3 separate regions of the Homo sapiens genome follow, and regions 1 and 2 are each linked to region 3. Evidence: promoter capture Hi-C in 16 types of primary human blood cells and fetal thymus (Javierre and others, 2016). All regions are on one chromosome and are shown on one strand. Each heading gives the region's core, a stretch centred on a gene start or on the middle of the fragment in contact. The rest is flanking DNA. Distances are from core to core; before and after follow the strand shown. Region 1 overlaps KLRK1-AS1 (KLRK1 antisense RNA 1). Region 2 holds the start of MAGOHB (mago homolog B, exon junction complex subunit). Region 3 holds the start of HEBP1 (heme binding protein 1).

Region 1 (2,883 bases), core at 63-2,562, 2.6 Mb before region 3:
GACAGATTTACTGTCCCCTTTGCCTGCGATACTAGGTCCCCGGGGCCAGGAGAGACCCGGCATCCAAGGTGTGCCACAGCTGAGCTTCACCCGGATATATAGACCAGCTCTCCCCACGTCCCAGCACCCTGCCTGGCAGCGCAATGGAACCGAGGATGGGGCTGCAGGACGATACCAGCACTTCAGGAACTGTGGTAAGGAGTATAGGCCCAAGGCAGGAAAGCCCGTCCCATAGGGACAAAGGGGAGCTTGATCACCTCCCAGGGACTGACCACTAATCCAACCCAGAGTGGCTGGGGGCAGCAGGAGTGGCCTGCCAATTTGGATGAAGCTTATGTCCCCACTAACAAAGTGAAAGTGGTTCACTGGATCTGGAGACAGGAACTGGGAGTGGTGTGTGTATGTGTGTGAATATGGGAGCCTAACTAGGCTCACCCAGGTCATGAGAGAGGCTCATTCCATCCGATGAGGACTCCTGCAGTAGGAGTGGTGTATGTGTGTGAAAGTGGGAGCCTAACTAGACTCACCCGGGACATGAGAGAGGCTCATTTCGTCCAATGAGGAATCCTGGGGCAAGGAAGGTGTGTGAAAGTGTGTGAAAGCGATGGTCTCGGGAGAGGCCAATGCAGGGAGTGACGTGGGGAGGCACAGATCCCTTAGCACGGGCTGTGTGCTCTGAGGCGAGTGTGGGGGGAAATCAGACCTAGGACATTGCATACAGCTGATAGGACGAGCTTTGCAGCTGTAGCAGGCTGTGACAGGGGAAGACACCTTCCTGGCTAAGCAGTGTCCGAAACTCCTGTAATAGGACCGGGTCTGCTGGACCTGAGAGTGAAAGTGAGAGTGAGAGTGAGAGTGTGCCGCAAGGGAGGAAATGGGAGGGAAAGCGTCAAAACCAACTCCTTTGGAGTGCATGATAAAAATTTTAAAGAAAGGATTTAGAGGTGATTGTGGGATGAAACTGGATGTTCAAAAGTTAAAGACATACTGTGAATTACAATAGCCCTCTTTTAGTGTCAGATGGCTGGCCGAAGGCACTGTAGAGAAATTGGCCGTGTGTTTTAAGGTGGTGACTAGGGTCGGAGGACAGCCAGGGCATTCAGACCTAGTCTTTATATTGACTCATGGCTAAATGTACGCAGCCCTGCCTAGCAGTTTATTGTAGAATGCTCGCAGCTCACGCCGAGATAAACCAACTGTGCTGGCAGCTACGGAGTTAAAGGGAAAGTCACAGAGGCTTCTAGCACCACCGATCCAAAAGTGAAAGTGAAAGTCAGCTGCCCTGGAAGCTATGCAGACCAAAAAAAAAAAAGAGTCTCAGGAAAGAGAAAACCAGTTTTGCAAGAATCACAGGATGGAATAGAGATCCTTCCTACCTATATTCCAATCTATCCCCCCTTACCAAGGCTAATTGCCCCTAAGGAGGTAAGTTCAAACAGATACATGCTCCCACTCTCACCTGAGAAGGAGAAATCGGAGCTCCAGGAAGTTAAAACGAAAGGCTCAAAAAGGTAGGCAGGCCGTCTCAGGTCAAGTCATGCCCAAGTTATGCTTCTGCCTCTTAAGAGGACAAGCAGACCCCCACTAGGACCCAGACGATGCAGTCCAGCTTCAGCACCTACAAAAGTGCCGAGAAGCACTTTTACAAAGGCTAAAGGATGTTAAAAGGAAAAGGCAACCAATATAAAAAAATCTCAGAAGTGCTCCATGGTGCAGATAAAAGCACCAGCCAGTTTTATAGGCATTTTGCTTGTACACTCTGTTTAACCCCGAGGCTGCTGAAAATCAGTGAATAGTAAATACGGCATTTGTAAGGCAGGCCCAAGGAGATATCAGGCATAAATTGCAGAAGTTAGAAGCTCCGTAGGTGTGAATGCTACTCAGCTTATTAAAGTGGCTACCAAGGTGTACATTAACTGAGACCAGGAGGCAAAGAAGAAAGCTGATTGGAGGCTTAATAAAGGCTTATTTACAAGCAGCAGCCCTTATGGGAAGAGAGGCTGGCTTTGCAAGGAGGCATAGATGCGGGTGTGAATGCAGTTGTGGAAAAGGCTAGTCTGGACAGCAATTTGAAAGCCAGCCAAGGCTAGAGAGAGATTAATGTACATGGTGCAAAAGAAAAGGACACTAGAAGGATAAATGTCAAAAGAATAAGGAGAATGGTCAAGGCCATGGTATGAAAAAACCACTGGCCAAGGGCTACTGCACCCAGGAGAAACCCAAGACTGCTGTGAAAGGCAGGATATAAAGGGTCAGAAAAAAGCTCAGATCTGCTCGAAAAGTGTCCAGTACTTAAGCTTTTACATAAGCCAAGAGGAAAGATGGCTTAGTAGTGAACAAAAGCAGGCTGTTTGTGCACTTCCTACTCCAACCACCTGGCGTCGAATAACAGAGTTCCTAAGGGCAGCAAAGTTCTTCCGCATTTAGATCCCAAATTTCTTGCTTGTGGCTAAGCCATTATACAAAGCCACAAAGAGGAGGAAAGAAGGACTCCTCCTCTAGGAGGCCAACCAGAAGAAGGCTTTTCAAAAAATCAAAGAAGCCTTGACTCAGATCCCAGCTTTAGGACTGCCAGATCTAACTAACTAAGCTTATCTTCTTGAATGTCCACAAGTGAAAGGGAGGCCATAAAGATTCTAACTCAAGCCATAAGGTCATGGCATTGCCCAGTGACACACTTATCCAGGCAGTTAGATTCTGTGGCACTTGGATGGCCTCCTTGTTTTAAAGCACTAGCTGCTACTGCCCTACTGGCACAAGAAGCTAATAAACTGACTTTAGAGATGGTGAATACCCTAAACCCGGCTACCTTGCTCCTCATCGAGTCAGTGCCAGGAGACCCCCTTCGTTGCTGTGTAAATGTGATAGATGAAGTGTTCTTAA
Region 2 (2,890 bases), core at 58-2,557, 2.4 Mb before region 3:
GGTGAGGGATCACTTGCACTAGGGAGGGGGAGGTTGCAGTGAGCTGAGATCGTGCCACTGCACTCAGATCTGGGTGACAGAGTGAGACCTTGTTTCAAAATAATAATAATAATAATAATTGCAGGACTGTAGTTAACGTGAGTTCTGCCTGAAATGCTTGATACTCTTCTCCTTTCCTAATATACGTTCCTTCTCTAATTTTTTATTCTTGCTCTCACAGAACATTGTCCAAAGCCTGCTTATAGGACTTAATATGCATACTGCTTTATAGTTAAATGTCTGTGCCTCCCACCAAGACAAATCTGCTTTAGTTAAATTTGTCTTACTCATTACTGTACCTTAAAATTTTGTATTTGCTTGTTGTCCAGCACAAAACGTGCATTCAAAAAAACCCAAAAAATATATATCCAAATGAACTTTCTTGTTGCAGGTAGGCAAGATCAATGTAACATTCTCTAAGGATAGCGCTGTCAGAAAACACACTGTTGCACACTACTTGGGTAGCAGTTTCACCTCATCCTCTGCTCATACTGCTCTGGAAGTCTGTTTTTTTCTCTCAAAGGCCAAGTCTCTCATTTCGAGACTCATCTCAAGAGTGCCGTCCTCTAAGAAGATCTTCCTGACTCCCTCCTGTGGAACTTTACCTCTCCCCTCTTGCTTGGTACTCTTCATGCGTCCTATGGTGAACAATTACACGTAAACACCTAAAACATATTATTATTCTCATTTGTTAACACGTTGGGCTCCTCCCCTTCAAAGAAAACACACAGCCTAAATGAAAAAAAGGTACTGGTCACCACAAGATTTTATTCATCCACTGGACCACCCGCTGGTGGGGGTGTTTTCAAAAAAGTGCTAGCATTTTCAATCAGGGCGACGATCTAGAGTCCCTTCTGGTGCACTGTTACAGAATTCTGATTACTGTAGGTTCAACTTTTCAGTTTGTGACAGGATTAGCTTTAATTTATTGCAATTAATTCTCTTTCATTTATAAAACCAACTTATGCCTCCTCTATTCTTAAGCTCCTATTTCCTTCGAGGGAAGCAGTGGCCTCCGCCGCCTGTACCCTCCACACCACCCGGCCTCTCGGTCTCGCTCCCCTTTCCCAGCACCGCGTGCCGTGGGCCTCTTCTCACCGTCCGGCCGAAATTCGAACTCCAGAAACTCGTGCCCAAACTTGCCCTTGTGCCCTACGTAGTAGCGCAGGTAGAAATCGCTAGCCACAGCCATTTTTGTACCCGGGAAGCCCGCCGAAAACGCAGCCAACGTGTCCCCCGGCGCCTTGCAGTGACGTCATCGCGCGGAATAAGTGCGTCACCACAGGCGCTTCTCTTCCTCCTGCAGTGCAGCCCTAGACTAAAGCGTGAAAGCCGAGTATCGCGTGAGAGTCCGGAGGCGCTGAAGGGAGGGTCGCAGCGCCGTGACTTTCGCTTTACTAGGAATGGAGGCACATTGTTTTCAAAATAAAGATTACATTATACTAGCAAAGATTAGAAATGTGAGCATATGATAGTCTTTTTTATGGACTTAGAGCTAAAGGTTTGCAAGTCACTTTTACTTTTCTGGTCTCCCAATCCTTGCGGCGTTTGTGAGGTGGGTGTGGCTCTATGCCCCCTTTAACTGTGAGCTAAATAAAGATAAAGCTTAGAATCGAAATGGCAGACCGGGAATATAAACTATTTTTCTTACTTAATTTCTAACAGGGTGCTTTCCCTTTGGATAGCGATTGGTAGTTACCCGGGACCTCTAAGCCTATAATAATAGAGACAAAGTCAAAGGAATCCAACTCTTAAAACCCTCACACCCCCCACACCTGAAAAACCCTGACAGTCACCGTGCTTTTTTTAACAGCAGAACTTCTAAGGTTCTTAATTCATTCAATAAGGGTTAACTTTTAGTAGCCTGTGAAGTTTTGGCAATTTGACTTACGATACAATAATGGTTTAGCCCATTATTGTTTCTCGCCAGATAGAATTAAATTGGGGGAATGAAAGAATGCTCCAGTGTGGCGTAGTTTTTAAGGTAAGGGAAAGACTTTTACACAAAGTTTCCTTTTCAGATATTATTGATCACCCTTTTGTTATCAACACACAGAGTAATCCTATCTGTCGGTTGACAACCTTCAGTGATTTTTAGTAGAAAGTGGTGGAGAGAAGACCTGGGATTCAATCCCAACACTTAACAGCTAACTAACCTCGGGCAAGTGACTATCTCTAAGCCTGTTTGTTCATCAGCCTAATGCATATACAGCAATCTACATTGCCAAGCTCACAGAATTCTTGAGAGATCTAATGAGATAATATGTAAAATAAGCTTTAAATTTTATAAAACATTAGTTTTAACAAACATTTCCTATGTGACAGTTTGAAACTAGAAATAAGCCATTTGATCTGGTAGTCTAGAAAAGAAAGCAAACACGTAAGGCGAATACCAGCACAAGGGAGCAATTGCTATAATTAAGAATATATGTGCCATCCTGGCCAGCATGGTGAAACCCCGTCTCTATTAAAAATACAAAAAAATTAGCTGGGCGTGGTGGCGCGTGCCTGTAATACCAGATACGCGGGAGGCTGAGGCAGGAGAATTGCTTGAACCCTGGAGGCAGAGGTTTCAGTGAGCTGAGATCGTGCCACTGCATTCCAGCCTGGGCAACAAGAGCGAAACTCTGTCTCAAAAAAAAAAAAAAAAAAAAAAGAAAAAGAAAAGAAAGCCTATATGTGGCCGGGCGCAGTGGCTCATGCCTGTAATCCCAGCACTTTGGGAGGCCAAAGGGGGCAAATCACCCGAGGTCAGGAGTTCAAGACCAGCCTGGCCAACATGGCAAAACCTTGTCTTTACTAAAAATACAAAAATTAGCCAGGTTTGGTGGCACGTGCCTGTAATCCTAGC
Region 3 (2,821 bases), core at 186-2,685:
TTTCAGGGGTGCAGTCCAGTTAGCCCATGTTAGCACTGATATAAATTTGGGGGAAGACAGCAATTATGCTCTTCTCACTCATTCTGTATTCTAGGTACCCAACTCCAGAGGATCTAACTGGCCAAAAGCAATGGTACAGCTCTGGGCCTTTGTGCATGCTCTTCTCTGTTGTGTGCACTCCTACACATCCCTGAGGCCCCAGCTCAGGACACTCCACTGAGGTCCCCATCATAGCCCCCTGGCAGAATTGACTGCCTCTGTGCTCCCTGCGTAGCGCATTTATATCTATTCTGCACAGATCTTGTTCTTTTACACAGTAGTCCCCCTTATCTATAGTAGATACCTTCCAAGCCCCCCAGTGGATACCTGAAACGGTGGACAAAACTGAACCCTGTATCTACTACGTTTTTTCCTATACATACATACCTATGATATAGTTTAACTTTATCAATTAGGCACAGTAAGAGATGAACAACAATAATAAAATAACAGCAATTATAACAATATGCCAGCATTGCTAAGCTTGCACTTTGGGGCCATTACTAAGTAAAATAAGGGTTACTTCAATACCGCCACGGTCGATCCGATCACCAAGCTAGCTACTAAGTGACTAAGGGCGGCTACTAGAGATAGGAGGCTGACCTTGGACAAAGGGGCATTCCGGTCCCAGGAATCAAGATTTCATCCTGCTACGCAGAATGGCCGGAAACTTAAAACTTAGGACTTCTGTATTTCTGGAATTTTCCATTTAATAGTTATGGACAAGAGCTGACCACAGGTAACTGAAATCGCGGATAAAGGGGGCTACTATCCGCAGTTCTCTAGTACTTGGGAGTTTCTTGCGACACTCATTTCTGCAACCGAGTGTCTCTCAACAAATCAAACTGTTCGGAATGTTTGGAATATTTTAAACGAAAGAATGCATTCAACAGGCAGTGCCCAACTCCCCAAGTTGGGATTCTCTCCTTGGATCAGTCTCTCCTGTTTACCCCCCTCCTCTCACCACCGGCTGCAGGGGGACCTCTCACTCCTTTCCTTCCCAGTCCAAATGCTGGGCGGTGGAGAGCCGCACTCGCGACAGACACCAGAACGCACCTTCGATAGCACATTCCTGCCCCACCTGCCCCTCAGCACCCGCTGCAGCCCCGACGAGGGTGGGGGTGGGAGGCAGCAATCCTTCAGGTCCTCGGCAGCCCTGCGGGCCTACCTTGTCCCCTTTGCTTAGGACCTGCCAAGGCCACGTCTCTACGCTTCCGAACAGCGAGTTCTTGATCATGCCCAACATGTTGTAGCCGAGACGCTCCCGACGCACGGGAGGACGTGAGGTGGCGGGGGCGACGGAGCACCACGGGCAGCGACCACCGGCGGCAGGGCGGCAGGGCGGCAGGGCGGCAGGGCGGCAGGGTGGCAGGGCGGCAAGGCGGCGGGACGGCGAGGCGGCGAGGCGAGAGGCGGGGCTAGAGGCAGGGGCCAGAGGGCGTGGCTAGAGGGCGGGGCGGCAATTCAGCCCGGCGGTGAGGCAAGGGGGCGGGACGGCGAGGTGAAGGGGCGGAGAGAGAGGGCGGGGCGGCGAGGCGAGGGGGCGGAGAGAGGGCGGGTCAGTGATGCGAAGGGCGGGCAGCAGGGCAGCAGTGCAGCAGTGCAGCAGTGCGGTGAGGCGAGGGTGCGAGGCGGCTAAGCAAGGGATGGGCCCGCCGTGGCGAGCCGCTGGGCCGTGTTCCGCCTCCTTTCGGGCTTTCCGCGGGTGTCTGGGGAGGGAACCCGGCCGCGGGCCTCAGGCCGTCCCCCTCCGCAGACCCCTTCTCTTATTCTGAGTCTAACCTATCCGCTGGGGCCCTGGAAAGCGATTCTCGCCTGGAGTGGCTTTAGGCAGCGGTGGTGGGGAACGTCCTCTCTCAGGTGCCTGGGCTCCAACCTCCGAGCCCCGGGTTGCTCACGCTTCTCCGGTCCTCTACCCGAAGGCTCGATCCCGCTGGTACAGCGGCGGCCAGGCTCCCTGTCTTGGTAGCTGTCCCTCTACCCCCGCCCCATGACCTCTTCTAGACCATTGAAAGAGCATCCAAACCACTTTCCTGCTGCCACTCTTTCCTACCATCCCTCTAAATCACAGTTTCCAGGTGACTTTTCTAAGCATGGCTTTTCTCGTTCACTCCTGTTCAAAAATCTTCTCACCAATTTTGTCACCATTTACTCAGCTGAGTGCCTGCTTTCTGTCAAGTATTTTACCAATAAATCTCTACTCCACACCACCGACAAGAAATATTTTGGAGCCATTTAAAAAGGAGGAAACGGAAGCTTCTGCCGCTGCCTGATCCTCCATTGCTCCGAGCCGCGCGGGTGCAGCGGGCTGTGGAGCCGCGGGCCGAGCCCCGCCGGAGCGCCCGAGAGCCCGCGCGTCCCGGGCGTCCGTCGGGGTCCGAGGTCCCTCCCTCAGGGAGTCCCCGCTCGGCAGCGCTCTCGCGTTTCACGCAGCGGCCGGGGATCTGGGACAGGCGGGGCCCCGAGGCCGAGCCTGGCGCTGCCCAGCGGCCGGTGCAGGCCTCAAGCTGGGCCGGGCGGAGGGGAACCGGCGAGTTGAAGCCCCGGGGCCGAAAGCCGGAGCCTGTGGCGGCCGCGGGGGTGGGGAGGGGGGTGGGGCGGCTTCTTGGGCAGCGCCACACGGCGGCGCAGTGATGGATGTTAACAGCAGCGGCCACCCGGACCTCTACGGGCGCCTCTGCTCTTTCCTCCTGCCGGAGGTGGGGGGCAGGCTGCCCGACCTGAGCCCCGACGGTGGCGCCGAACCGGTCGCGGTCTCCGGGACGCCGCATCTGCTGAGCGG

Evidence for each region. Contacts are between HindIII fragments. The CHiCAGO score rates a contact against its expected background, and 5 or more counts as called.
Region 1: a contact is called between a fragment that was not itself captured here and the fragment with the promoter of HEBP1 in region 3, in 1 of 17 cell types (activated CD4 T cells). The highest score is 5.1, in activated CD4 T cells.
Region 2: a contact is called between the fragment with the promoter of MAGOHB here and the fragment with the promoter of HEBP1 in region 3, in 3 of 17 cell types (non-activated CD4 T cells, naive CD4 T cells and activated CD4 T cells). The highest score is 7.3, in non-activated CD4 T cells.

The regions. Positions count from the first base shown.
Region 1 is chr12:10,363,840-10,366,722 of GRCh38, forward strand. It overlaps KLRK1-AS1 (KLRK1 antisense RNA 1), which reads left to right. Exons shown (of 4, transcript NR_120430.1): 1 at 1-194. Among named protein-coding and RNA genes, the nearest start is that of KLRK1-AS1, 1.5 kb to the left of the region's middle. RefSeq lists enhancers at 401-450, 911-980. The HindIII fragment of the contact is 1,966 bases long and covers 330-2,295 here.
Region 2 is chr12:10,612,302-10,615,191 of GRCh38, forward strand. MAGOHB (mago homolog B, exon junction complex subunit) reads right to left here and starts at 1,308. Exons shown (of 5, transcript NM_018048.5): 1 at 1,138-1,308. The coding sequence starts at 1,231. RefSeq lists enhancers at 365-1,244, 1,029-1,428, 1,245-2,122. The HindIII fragment of the contact is 2,009 bases long and covers 1-1,642 here.
Region 3 is chr12:12,998,830-13,001,650 of GRCh38, forward strand. It overlaps HEBP1 (heme binding protein 1), which reads right to left and starts at 1,436. Exons shown (of 4, transcript NM_015987.5): 1 at 1,208-1,436. The coding sequence starts at 1,285. All of the region lies in intron 2 of GPRC5D-AS1 (GPRC5D and HEBP1 antisense RNA 1), which reads left to right. It also overlaps the pseudogene HTR7P1. RefSeq lists silencers at 1,301-1,450, 1,501-1,620, 2,381-2,530. The HindIII fragment of the contact is 1,773 bases long and covers 521-2,293 here.